Linked DNA regions of Homo sapiens: region 2 is linked to region 1. Evidence: promoter capture Hi-C in 16 types of primary human blood cells and fetal thymus (Javierre and others, 2016). All regions are on one chromosome and are shown on one strand. Each heading gives the region's core, a stretch centred on a gene start or on the middle of the fragment in contact. The rest is flanking DNA. Distances are from core to core; before and after follow the strand shown.

What was found. The method cuts DNA at HindIII sites, captures the fragments that hold promoters and counts their contacts. A CHiCAGO score of 5 or more calls a contact.
Region 2: a contact is called between a fragment that was not itself captured here and the fragment with the promoter of RNF111 in region 1, in 5 of 17 cell types (megakaryocytes, erythroblasts, endothelial precursors and 2 more). The highest score is 7.6, in megakaryocytes.

What each region holds. Positions count from the first base shown.
Region 1 is chr15:58,985,777-58,992,953 of GRCh38, reverse strand. RNF111 (ring finger protein 111) reads right to left here and starts at 5,291. Exons shown (of 14, transcript NM_017610.8): 1 at 4,886-5,291. RefSeq lists an enhancer at 1,345-1,844 and a silencer at 4,408-4,572. The HindIII fragment of the contact is 2,845 bases long and covers 4,140-6,984 here.
Region 2 is chr15:59,085,808-59,092,096 of GRCh38, reverse strand. It overlaps RNF111 (ring finger protein 111), which reads right to left. Exons shown (of 14, transcript NM_017610.8): 11 at 2,338-2,430; 12 at 943-1,038. Among named protein-coding and RNA genes, the nearest start is that of CCNB2, 16 kb to the left of the region's middle. The HindIII fragment of the contact is 1,282 bases long and covers 2,801-4,082 here.

The DNA.
Region 1 (7,177 bases), core at 4,042-6,541:
CAGGTGATCCGCCTGCCTCAGCCTCCCAAAGTGCTAGGATTACTACAGGTGTGCACCACCATGTCCAGCCTAAACATGAATGAACGTTTTCAAAAATATATTATTTTATTTTATTTCATTTACTTATTTATTTTGAGATAGGGTCTGGCTTTGTCACCGAGGCTGGAATGCAGTGGCACAATCTCGGCTCATTGCAACCTCTGCCTCCCGGGCTCAAGCCATCCTCTCACCTCAGCCTCCCGAGTAGCTGGGACTACAGGCATGTGCCATTATGCCTGTCTAATTTTTGTATTTTTTTGGTACAGCCAGAATTTCGTCACATTGCCCAGCCTAGTCTCAAACTCCTGGGCTCAAGCAATCCACCTTCCTCAGCCTCCCAAGGTGCTATGATTACAGGCATGAGCCACTGGGCCCAGCCAAAAAAATATATTTTAAAATATGAACAATTTTCAAACCTCACAAAAGCAGAGAACAATATTATTAATACCCATGTACCCATCACCCCAACCCAACAATTATCCAGATTGTGCCAGACCTGCTTCATCTATCTTATCTCCCTCCACCACATTTTTTGGTTTTTATCTGGTATCTGTTTAAAATAACAGACATTGCTGGGCACGGTGGCCCACGTCTGTAATCCCAGCACTTTGGGAGGCCGAGACGGGCGAATCACCTGAGATCACGAGTTCAAGACCAGCCTGGCTAACATGGTGAAAAACCGTTTCTACTAAAAATACAAAAAGTTAGCAGGCGTGGTGGCGCGCTCCTGTAATCCCAGCTACTCAGGAGACTGACGCAGAAGAATTGCTTGAACCCGGGAGGTGGAGGCTTCAGTGAGCTGAGATCACACCACTGCACTCCAGCTTGGGCAACGAGGGAAACTCCATCTCAAAATAAAATAAAATAAAATAAAATACCAGACATTTGCAAGTTTTCTCCCTCATTCCTCAGTCTCTATCACTAATAAAAAGTGGTCATTTTCTTACATAAACATAATGCCATTATCATCCCTAACAAAGTTACAATAACTCCTTGATATCATCTAATACCCATCCATATTCAGATTTCCCCCAATGTTTCAAAAATGACTTTCTACAATTGGTTTGAGTCAGGGTTTAAACAACACCAACATATTGTATTTGGTTACTACACATAAAATAATTTTAATCTGTCTACATCATCTGACAGCAAATATGAAAAGCTTAACAGACAAACCAAATAATTAATTTACATTTGTAGATTCTCTAGAATCAAACCTCACCTAATGCATTTGCCGCCCCTGCTATCTGTAGCAGTCTTCCTCCAAATCGTCACTATGGCTGATTTTTTCTAGTCATTGAAGTCACAGGTCAAATTACCACCTCTAAAAAGGCCCTCCCTAACCACTCAATCTACAGTAAAACCACTTCCATCCATGCCGTATCACATGGTCCTATTTTCCTCATGGCACTTACCACTACCTGAAACCATTCTGTTTATTATGTTCCCACACACAGAACAGAATGTCAGCTCCATGAAGGCAGAGTGCCTTCACTGAAGACCAGTGACTGTGCCTAGAACATGAGACATTCAATAAATGTATCTACGTAATAATGCAGTACCGCTCTTTAAAATGTAAGCTCAGCTAAGTATTTGGAGGCTTTTTTGTTGTTTTGTTTTTTTTCAAGATGGAGTCTTGCTCTGTCACCCAGGCTGGAGTGCAGATCTCAGCTCAGTGGAACCTCCACCTCCCGGGTTCAAGCAATTCTGCCTTACCCTCTTGAGCAGCCAGGATTACAGGCGCATGCCACCACCATGCCCAGCTAATTTTTGTATTTTTTTTTTAGTACAGACGGGGTTTCACCATGTTGGCCTGGCTGCTCTCGAACCCGACCTCATGATCTACCCGCCTCGGCTTCCCAAAGTGCTGGGATTACAGGTATGAGCAAGCGCACCCAGCCTCAGCTAAGTATTTGTCTTTAAATATTTGTAATTCACTCCTCATGTAATGATATAAATTGAGTACCTGTAGAAACCTGGGCCAGCTGTTACCAAGAATCTGTAGGATGTAGGAAAGAAACAAACAGAGGTATAAGACATTCAAATGTAATTGTGGACTTTTACTGAACAATAATTACAGGTTTCTGAAAGAAAAACAAATTATTCCAGATGATTTTTAAAATGTTACCAGGAGTAATAAAAAATTTCATTTTTAGTACCATCTGAAAGCTATTAAAGCTTCAGTAATTAATATCTACAATGGGACAACAATAGCAATAATATGTGGAACAACAATCATAGTTTTTTTGTTTGTTTGTTTTGAGAAACAGTCTCGCTCTGTCGCCCAAGCTGGAGTGCAGTGAGTGGCACGATCTCCGCTTACTGCAACCTCCGCCTCCGAGGTTCAAGCCATTCTCCTGCCTCAGCTTCCCAGGCAGCTGGGACTACAGGCGCACACCACTAAGCTCGGCTAATTTTTTGTATTTTCAGTAGAGATGGGGTTTCACCATTTTGGCCAGACTGGTCACCTCAAGTGATTCGCCCGCCTTGGCCTCCCAAAGTGCTGGGATTACAGGGGTGAGCCACCACGCCTGGCCCACAGCTTCATGACAGGTTTTACACATACACATTTCATGAGGGAATTGATGCTTTTTGTACAGCATTTCTTTCTGGGGATTCAATTACGACAAACACAACAATGAATACCAAAAACCTAACTAGATATACAAACCATTAAATTTGGGACCTAAAGAAAACGAAAGTTATCTATTCTACAATTCTCATTTAAACAGAGAGACCTGAAGCCCAAGGAGGGTTAACAATAAACTCGGAGATCTAATGTATAGCAAGCAAAGATAGATCTAAAATCTAGATCTCCTGTCCTTAGCCCTATATTATTTCATAAGATAACGTTACCCATAGAACGGTAATGTCAAGTTATAACATATTTTAACTGCTATCATTTTTCAGATGGTCTCTTTTATTTCCTACTGAAGTCTTGGCCCAAAAGGGGAGAAAAAGTCAAAAGAAGGGCACATAAGTATGCCTCAAGTAAAGCATGATACAGAAACCTCTCTTTAAACTATAACAAAAAAAAAAAGAAGGAAACATCTAAAAATCTAAATGGTTTGATTCAATTAGTTTCCTTTATATTTTTTATTTTAAAGTAAAATAACTAGGAGTATCTGCTAAATGACTGCACCTTAGCTTTATACAAGCAAGGTGCTTTTCTCTTAAACATCACAACAGCTCTCTCTCAATAATCTGTAGAAATGGAGTACCAAAGTGAAATTCGTTAAGATGTAACCTCTGCTGTAATGCATTTTTCACCAAAATGAAGTCACTTTGTTTATACCTTTCTTTAAAAACCAGTTCTATGTCTGGTGAAATAACTAGCAAACAAGTGGCCAACAGACACCAAACAAAAGTTAAGAAGTGACAGAAGGATCTGCACATGATATAGCACCCGTGATAAACAAGGAGACTCATTCTTCCTACTTTTTCCTAAAATATTATTTAGATTTATAAACACCCTCACCAATTCTTAGAATACTGTTGTGAATCTTTGGTCACAAACAAATGAGCAGGAGAGAGATGATAAAGTCATTTGTCCAAGGTTAAATGGCAAGAAAGTGTCCAAAATAAGATAAATCAAGGCTTTAGAAACAATCAATTTAAAATGATTGTAAAAGTAAAAGGGCTTCCTTCTTATCCATCTGTTTCACCTCACAAATATAACCAGACTAGGGTGAAACAATGTGGCTTATACTGACATGAAGATTTTTACAAAAATACATATAGTAATAAACTATCAAAAGATGTATCTTTACTGTAATAAAGCTAAGTCCAGCGTTACAGAAGTTGTGTATGGTAATCTCAAAATCACATTCAAGCATTTACAACCATCACACACACACACAACAAAAATGGGAAAGGAAATGGAACCTTAGCTTATGTTTTTCCCAGTTTGTTCTTTTTAGTTCAAGAGGCCCCTAAAACAAGAAAATTATAGATAAAATACCAAATGAAATAAAGTTTAGATTAAGTCACATTCAAAAGCTACAGGAAATCCTACAAAACGTAGTCTATGTCAGCTGGCATCTTACCATTCAAGAGAATTCTAAATTAATGCCGCACATAAATCAAGAAACAGGAAAGCTTACAACAACACAATGGAGTCACCCCACAACACACACACGAACAAATTAAATGAATACCTCATACTTTCTGGTATTTTTTGAATAATCAAAACTTAGGTTGAGAAATACCCATCTGTAAAGATCTATCTACTATAACCTATTTAAGAACTGTTGTAACAAATCTATTTCTGCTGCACTGAACAGATATTCCCACTATAGCACTGACACTGACTCTGATAAATTATCGAAGGACAATAGTAAAAACATCAGTTTCTTTTTAAATGACCAACAAGCCAACTCCATACAAAATCTGACGCGTCTGTATTTCAGCTGTTCCGCGGACTACGTTTCCTTGATCACAGCAGCAGCAGGCGACTCCCTAGCCGTCAGGGCTGACTTAGCGCCCTCCAACTCCCCGGGTCCGGGTTACCTTCATCACTCCATTGTCAAATCGCACTCCCACGCCTCGGTCCTCAGCCCCCATCCTGAGACTCTAGGGAGAGTCGGAAGTGGGAGAGAAATCCCCTCACCCACACTCCCTCACTGTAGGCTGTGGGTGTGTCGGTAGACGAATGCCTTGCCCAAACACAAATCGTCTGCGGAGACCCAGACCCTAAGTCACCACCGAGCCAGAGATAACCGGCCGGTCACCGACCCCAGCCTTCCGCGGCCGCAGCCCTTCCTCTTTCTCCCCTCCAGGCCGGCCCCTCCCCCGTTGCGCGCACGCGCGGCCTCCAATGGATCCCCTCCCCCCCCGTTCCCCTCACCTTAATCATTAGCCACCCTCTTCTCTTCCAGGGTCCGGGAATCACTGACCCAGGAAGGAAGACAGAAATGTAAGGCGTAAAGAGTAATGCGTCGAGAGCCAGCGATCTGCGCCTCAGACGTCGGCCTAATAGGCCCCTAGAGTCAAGAACAGTGTCTGTCACCGCCACCAAAACTGTACGTGCGGCAGCGCCTGGACTCGGCCCAGCTAAGCCGGCGTGGGTTCAGAATGCCTAATTTGGTCCCACAAGAACTCCTTCTCTGAAGCTGCGGGCGTTTCTACGCTGCGCAAACCGAACACCTCCTCGCCGTCGCCGCCACTGCCGCTGCTCCCCTACAGCCGCCGCCGCCGCTTCGCCGCCGCCGCCGCCTAACCAATTCCTCCCCTACCGAGGAGAGCACGACACTAGGGCTCTTTACGACAGTTCGGAAAGTGAGAGCGCAGTAGCCTTCACGCCTCCATTAACATCTGTTTGTTTCTGCGCTTGCTCGATTCCCGTTTCTCACCGTCCCGCCCCCTCGGTCCCGGCCCTCCCCCTTTGTACTGGTTTTATCAGTCTGTTGGCGAACTGAAAGGTGTCACAAAGCTCATTATTTAATTTTCTTTGGTGATTATGCGTTCAACATTTAAGCCAAATCTTGACTACATCTTGGTTCATTTTTTCGTAACTAAAAATTAACCAACTACAGAATTGATACATTTACAGATATACGTAAACAAAAACATCATGGGTTAGTGTCTTTCACAACAAATGATACCCATATCATATGCGCTAATGACATAAAGATCACGGCACCTCACTGTTAAAGTGAATTTGCTTCCGGAATCAGATCAAAAGTGGTCACATATCTCCTGCGAACTCGGGCTGTACAATCGCATAAGCCTCCTTGTTTATTTTATAAAAGTCAGTAGATAACAAATGCGTCATTATATGCATTAGGAGGATAGAGAGAGGATGAGCTTCAGAGTCCATCAGGCAGACTTCCTTTCAAAGTCCAGTGGTGCCACTTAAGAGTTCTCTGATTGATGAGATCCTTATAAATCTTAGTTTCCTCCTCTATAAATTGGGATAACGTATTTACCTCAAAAGGTTCTTGTTAGATTAAATGAGACAATTTATATAATGCTCTGAACATTACTTGCCAATTAAGTGTTCACTAAACATTAATTCCCTCCCTTTGCCATCAACTCATCTTTTTCAATACTTTTTTTGTTCACTCATATTTTCCGTATCATTCAGTAAGCAAATGATTTTGGCCGGGCACGGTGGCTCACGCCTGTAATCCCAGCACTTTGGGAGGCCTAGGCGGGTGGACTACCTGAGATCAGGAGTTCAAGACCAGCCTGGCCAACATGGTGAAACTCCTTCTCCACTAAAAATACAAAAACTAGCTGGGCGTGGTGGCGGACGCCTGTAATCCCAGCTACTCGGCAGGCTGAGGCAGGAGAATCGCTTGAGCCAGGGTGGCCGAGGTTGCAGTGAGCCATGATCAAGCCATTGCACCCCAGCCCGGGTGACAGGGAGACTCCGTCTCCAAGAAAAAAAAAAAAAAGGCTGGGCGCGGTGGCTCACGCCTGTAATCCCAGCACTTTTGGAGGCCAAGGCGGGCGGATCATGAGGTCAGGAGATGGAGACCATCCTGGCTAACACGGTGAAACGCTGTCTCTACTAAAAATACAAAAAATTAGCCGGGCGTAGTGGCGGGCGCCTGTAACCCCAGCTACTCGGGAGGCTGACACAGGAGAATTGCTAGGACCCGGGAGGCAGAGGTTGTAGTGAGTGCGAGATTGTGCCACTGCACTCCAGCCTGGGCGACAGAGTGAGATTCCGTCTCAAAACAAACAAACAAACAAACAAACAAAACACACACACACACACACACACAAATGATTTTAAAATTACAATAATGATCAAGGATAGCAGATTGTGTGGGAAAACTAAAAGAGCATTCGACTAGGATTTTCCTCAATCCTCCTATTTTCTCACTCTTAAACATAGAATTTTGCCCGGACTATCTTATCTTCTCCCTTGATTTTAACTGTTACTATCTCATGACTTCTCAAACCTGTATTTCCAGCTCTAACCTTTTTTCTGAAGCTTTTGACCTGTGTTCTTCAATTAGGTAGACACCAGCCATATGTGGCTGCTGAGCACTTAAAATGTGGCTAGACTCCCTCCTCTTCTCCCTCTCCCCTCCCCTTTTCCTTTTCCGTCTCCCTAAAAAAATAAATAAATAAAAATAATTGAGAAGTGCTTTAAGTGAAAAATACACATCGAATTTCAAAGGTACAA
Region 2 (6,289 bases), core at 2,192-4,691, 100 kb before region 1:
AAATAGATGAAAAATACAGAGAATAGTAATTTTCACACTTTATGATTATTCTTTACATAGTATAAAGGAGTCTCCAACCCCTGGGCTGCAAACCAGTACCTGGCTGCACAGCAGGAGGTGAGTGGCAGGTGAGCGAGCATCACTGCTGGAGCTCTTCCTCCTGTCAGATCAGCAGCAGCGATAGATTCTCATAGAAGCGTGAACCCTATTGTAAACTGTGCATGTGAGGGATCTAGGTTGCATGCTCCTTAAGAGAATCTAACTAATGCCTGATAATCTGAGGTGGAATAGTTTCATTCTGAAACTATCCCCTCTGCCACCTATCCATGAAAAATTGTCTTCCATGAAAACTGGTCCCTGGTGTCAAAAAGGTTGGGGACCGTTGGTATTGAGCATGGTTTAAGACACGTATTTAACATGTCTACCCCATAACTGTATAATGCTATACAAGCAACTGAGGGTAGAGTAGAAGAAACATACATCAATAAAATGTCCGTCAAAATAAATTGCTAGTTAAAAAAATTACAGTACTGCCATATGATGGAATTCTGCATAAGCTATTAAAAATAATAAGGGTGATCTGTGGGAGCTAATTGGCATGAAAGGCAATCTGCAAACTATGTGGTAATCATCTCCTTTTGTGTTTTTTTTAAAGTAGACAAAAATATATATACATATGCACATTATTAGAAAATGCTAAAAAATATCTAGAAGAATATCTAAATCCTTAACTATGATTTCACTTCTGGGAAGAAGGACTAGGGTCTGCAGAGTAAAAAACTGCAAAGTATATATTTTTTATACTTTCCAAAATTTTTAAACAATATGTATGCATTACTTCAATAAAAATGTCATTGCTAGAGTCTACAAATTCAAAAAAGGTATATATTACATTTATGCCTTTCAGTAACACTCCAGAAGTTTCATAGAATAAATTCTTACCTTTTTGTATTTATGTGGATATGTACATCTTTCAATTGTCCCCTGGGATGCTCCACGATTGACATTGCCTAATCTTTCTTCCAAATGAATCAGTTCCTGAAAGTGAAGAATATAATGACTGGTAAAAGCCAAGATGATTATTCCTTGAACAGAACTGTCAACATTGTATAAGAAATAAACCTCCATACTTAGAAACTTGCAATATAAATACAGTGTTCAAAAAAACTTACACATGACAAGTGGTTACTTATATATAAGTATATATATAAAACAGTTTATATGTTGCCCAGGCTGGTCTCAAACTCCTGGCCTCAAGTGATCCTCCCACCTCGGCCTCCTAAACTGCTGAGATTACAGGTGTGAGCCACCATGCCTGACTTAATGTTTCTCATAGACAGTAAGGCAAATGGTTGTTTATCATGTTTTCCTCAGCCAACTGAAATGGTACAGCAAAAGTTATCTTTATAAATTACAACAATATTATCACATGGTACTATGTAAGTCAGTATGTATGTATGTATGGAGAAGATGAAATAATTCTAGTAAATTAAGGAACCAAATCAAACAATAGTTCTAAGTCACAATGACTCCAACTTCCAAACTGACATAAAAAAAACACAACGGGGGCCGGGTGCGGTGGCTTGCGCCTGTAATCCCAGTACTTTGGGAGGCCAAGGTGGGTGGATCACTTGAGGTCAGGAGTTCAAGAGCAGCCTGGCCAACATGGCAAAACACTATCTCTACTAAAAATACAAAAATTAGCCGGGCGTGGTGGCGGGCACCTGTAATCCCAGCTACTCAGGAAGCCGAGGCAGGAGAATTGCTTGAACCCAGGAGGCGCAGGTTGCAGTGAGCTGAGATTGTGCAACTGCACTCCAGTCTGGGTGACAGAGCAAGACTCCATCTAAAAAAACAACAACAACAAACAAACAAACAAACAAACAAAAAAACAAACCACAACAAAACTTTAAATCCCATTCGAATGATTTGTTCTTCCTGAAAATTCAAACAAGACATTTAGCTACAAAGGGAATTACTTAAGTTTCTTTTTCTCTACCGATTTCTCTAAAAATTTAGCTGAGTCAAAAACATTCCGTTCCCCACCACATTTAATGGTATAGTTATATATCTGACATTTATATTGATTTAATACATTTTTATATTCTTCTATATTAGATATTTTCATTTACTCATCTTTAAATATTTCGGTAACTTTTGACCCTAAGATTAATAATACTTACAAATATTTCTGTAACTCCCAGAAGCAACATCAGAAAATCACATGTGATTCCCAGCCACTGTAGCAGTCCTACACAATTGTGTATAGTAGTATATATATACTCAATCTGCATTAAAGATACTGTGACAAACATATTCATTTATTTTATTACATACCTCAAAATTGCCCCTGAAAGGACCTCTGAATGATGTTCCATCCAATCCTGATGAAATGTAACGGATGTGAGGATAGCCTGCCATATCAGGAACCTATTTCAACAGAAGAGATAGGCTAAATCAATTTTAAGAATAGACTTGTGATTTACTGTTAACATTGAATAATTCAAGACCCTCAATGTTTTCAATTCAACTGCTCATAAAATTTGACTTCAATAAGAATACATAACTCCAACTAAGCATTCTGTAACAGGTTTAGGTTTCTGTTAAAATATAACCTAACTCTCCAAAATGCCCAAACTTAAGCCTGAGGCTCTTAGTAGCTCAAACTTGAAAAGAGTAAAATTGTCTTAAGATCCTGTCCATTTCAGAGAGCTTTATTAAAACAACAACAAAAAATGCACACAATTTTCCAACAAAATTCGACTTCAAGATAAGTTTTTTACTTCACTTCTGTTAAGCTTCCTAACAGCCAAAGTACCCTATGCCTTTTTTGCTTGATTCTATTAGGGAAACTTTTAACACTGTTTTCTAATTTTTTGTTAGTTACAGTCAATCTTCATTATTTATGGATTACATATGTGTGAACTGACCCACAGGCTAAAATTTACTTGTAACCCCATAATCAACACTTGTGCTTTCAGAGTCATTCGTGGATATGACCGGTGGCAAAAAATTGCAGTTGCCCAACATGCAACTCTGTTCCCAGCTGAGGTAGAACAGGGCTCTGCCGTATTTGAGCTCCTACTATAAACCAGTGTCTTGTTTGCAGACTGTTTAGTGCCACGTTTTTCACAGTTTTGTGCTTTTTGTTGGTGATTGTGTTGTTTAAAATGGCACCCAAGCATAGAGCTGAAGTGCTGTCTAGTGTTCCTAAGCAAAGAAGGCTGTCATACACCTTATGGAGAGAATAAGTTTCATTCACGCATGAGTTACAGTGTTGTTGGCTATGAGTTCAATGTTAATGATTCTACAATATTTTTTAAAGTTGTCTTTAAGCAGAAACACACATAAAAAAGGTTATACACTGATTAGTTGTGAACAGAGGTTTGCAAGGGTCCCATATTTGCTAATTCAGTGTTTGCAGCAACTGTATAGATCATAACTGCCATGCATAGTGAGAGTATTAGGAAAGGGCATTTCTGAGATACAGCACCATTCTTCCATCTTTATAAATAAATCTCTGACATTACTTTTTAATTAGCCTACACTGAATCACAACATACTTTAAGCAGAATTTATAGCTTTAACGGACACTTCATATGTGGAAAAGAATTTAAATAAGCAATAACTTTTAACCTTCAATAGCCTATTACTTAAATTGTTTACAACTTTTCTTATAACCAAGATCATTACTACTCAGCAGATAACCCAACCTCCTAAACATCTTCAAAGAAATCGGAAAGGAACTCCTGCATCCCAAATTATCTAAATCTTCACTTACCCTGAAAAGCCTCTCCTCCCTAGTCTCTTTCCTCCAGCCTTTATGGATGAGCTTTTCTCCTATTCGAACTCAATCCTTATCACCCACTCCTCCCTTCACCTGTTCACCCTGGGTCATGCTTACTTCACTACTTCCCACCAAGCCTCTCTCTCTTCAATATCTTCAAACAATTCCTCTCTAATGGTTTTCTGTCTTAAACCTGAAAATACCTTAAGTTTTTCCAAACCTAAATTCTCTACTAATCCTGGAATTACTGCCAACCAAATAGGGGTTTCCTTCACTTTCCCTTCACAGCCAAGCTTATAAAGCAAGAAGGCTATATTCACTGTCTCCATGTTTTCACTTCCTTACCGTACGTAATCTAAGAGGTGCCCCATCTACATCACTCACCATTACTGAACCATTCTGACACAAAAGACCAATAACCACTCTACTGCCAAATGCTTTCAATACTTTTCAAACTTTATTTTTTTGTGATGACACCATACTGACCATATTACAGTTCACCCTTGAACAACATAAAATGGGTTTGAACTGCATGGGTCTGCTTACATGTAGATTTTCTGCCACCTCTGCCACCCCAGAGACAGCAAGATGAATCCCTCCTTTTCCTACTCTTCAGCTTACTCAATGTGAAGACAATAAGGAAAGAGACCTTTATAATGATACACTTTCACTTAACGAATAGTAAATGTATTTTCCCTTCCTTATAATTTTCTTAACATTTTTTTCTACTTTATTGTAAACTATCATTATCTATTGTAGACTATCATTATCACGTACTTATAACATACAGAATATGTGTTGATCAACTGTTTATTTTAGCAGTAAGGCTTCCGATCAACAATAGACTATTAGTAGTTAAGATTTTAGGAACTCAAAAGTTATACTCTGATTTTCGACTGTGAGGAGGGTCAACACCCCTAACCTCTGCATTGTTCAAGTGGTAACTGTATTTTCTGATATTATTTTAACTGTGTTTCTCAACTTTTCAAGCCAGTTCTCAGAATCCTTTGTTCAAAGCATAGTATTATCATTTAAATACAGTATTGTCATTCTCTAAGGTTTTTTCACCCTCTTGTCACTCTGCACATTTTTCCTGAAAACCTAATCCTCTTCCATGGATTCATTACCTCCATATACTGACAGATCAAAACATATCTTTAACCCAAATATCTTTGGAAATCCAGACCACAGGCTTAACTTCCTATTGGACATTCAACTTTCATAGAGATTCAGTACATCCAAGACCTAACTCACCTAACCCCTTCACCCAAACCCTAAATATCTCTCAAATGTGTATCATCATTTTTATGCCAACTACAATTGCCTTCATTCAGGCATTCATCAATATTTACCTCTTCTACTATAATGTCCTAACTGGTTTCCCACATTTACATCTATTTTTCCACATAACTGAGGAGGTGATCTAACTATAATCTGATTAAATAACTCTAAAATCATAAATTTGATCAGGACATTTCCCCTTCAATGGTTCCTGAGTTCCAGTTTCTTGGTAGAACAGTTTTATTTCTCACTGCTGCCTGACCCTCACTCCTAAAATTAGAAACACCAGCTTACTTGGAGTTCCCAGTGCTTGTGCTATTTGCTACATCTTTACATGCTGTAACCTCTGCAAGAGCACCATTCCATAATCCAGTCTGCTTAGAAGTCACATGTACCAGAAAGCTTCTCTGAAAGCTTTCCTGCAGTGCCTCTACCCACAACAACACAAAACTATTCCCTTTTCTGTACCATTTATATAACAAGTATGTAATACAAACAGCAAACGCAATGTATGTTTTGCTGAACTTGTCCTTTAGCACTTTACAAAATCTGAACCTGCTTAAATCAGATGTAGAGAATTAGTATAATCTTTCTGCAGATTAGAAAATCAGGCTGGGTGCCCTGGCTCAAGCCTGTAATCCCAGCACTTTGGGAGGCCAAGGTGGGCAGATCACTTGAGGCCAGGAGTTTGAGACCAGCCTGGCCAAATGGTGAAACCCCATCTCTATTAAAAATACAAAAATTAGCCAGGCATGGTGGCACGTGCCTGTAATCCCAGCTACTTGGGAGGCTGAGGCAGGAGAATCACTTGAACCCAGGAGGTGGAGGTTGCAGTGAGCTGAGATCATACTACTGCACTCCAGCCTGGGTGACAGAGTGAGACTCTGTCGAAAAAAAAAGAAAAAAGAAAATCAAGTATGACTGCATCAGAACGGATCTATTACCACTTACGGCAAAATAACTGAAGCACAGTATACTCCTGACAGTGGATTAAGAGTATCTTGGTATACAAAAAACCCCACACTTTTTTGTCATGTCGTACATTAAGAGTACATGTTATGATGCAAATTATACGTGCAGATTTTAATACATCTAATACCTTTTTATAGCACAATTTTAGCTAACAAGATTACTCTCAAATTCTATTAAAACATCTATATTAATATAGTGAAGTATTTCCAATAAAATACTTAGAAAAGGAACTTTTAGAACATGTCAAAA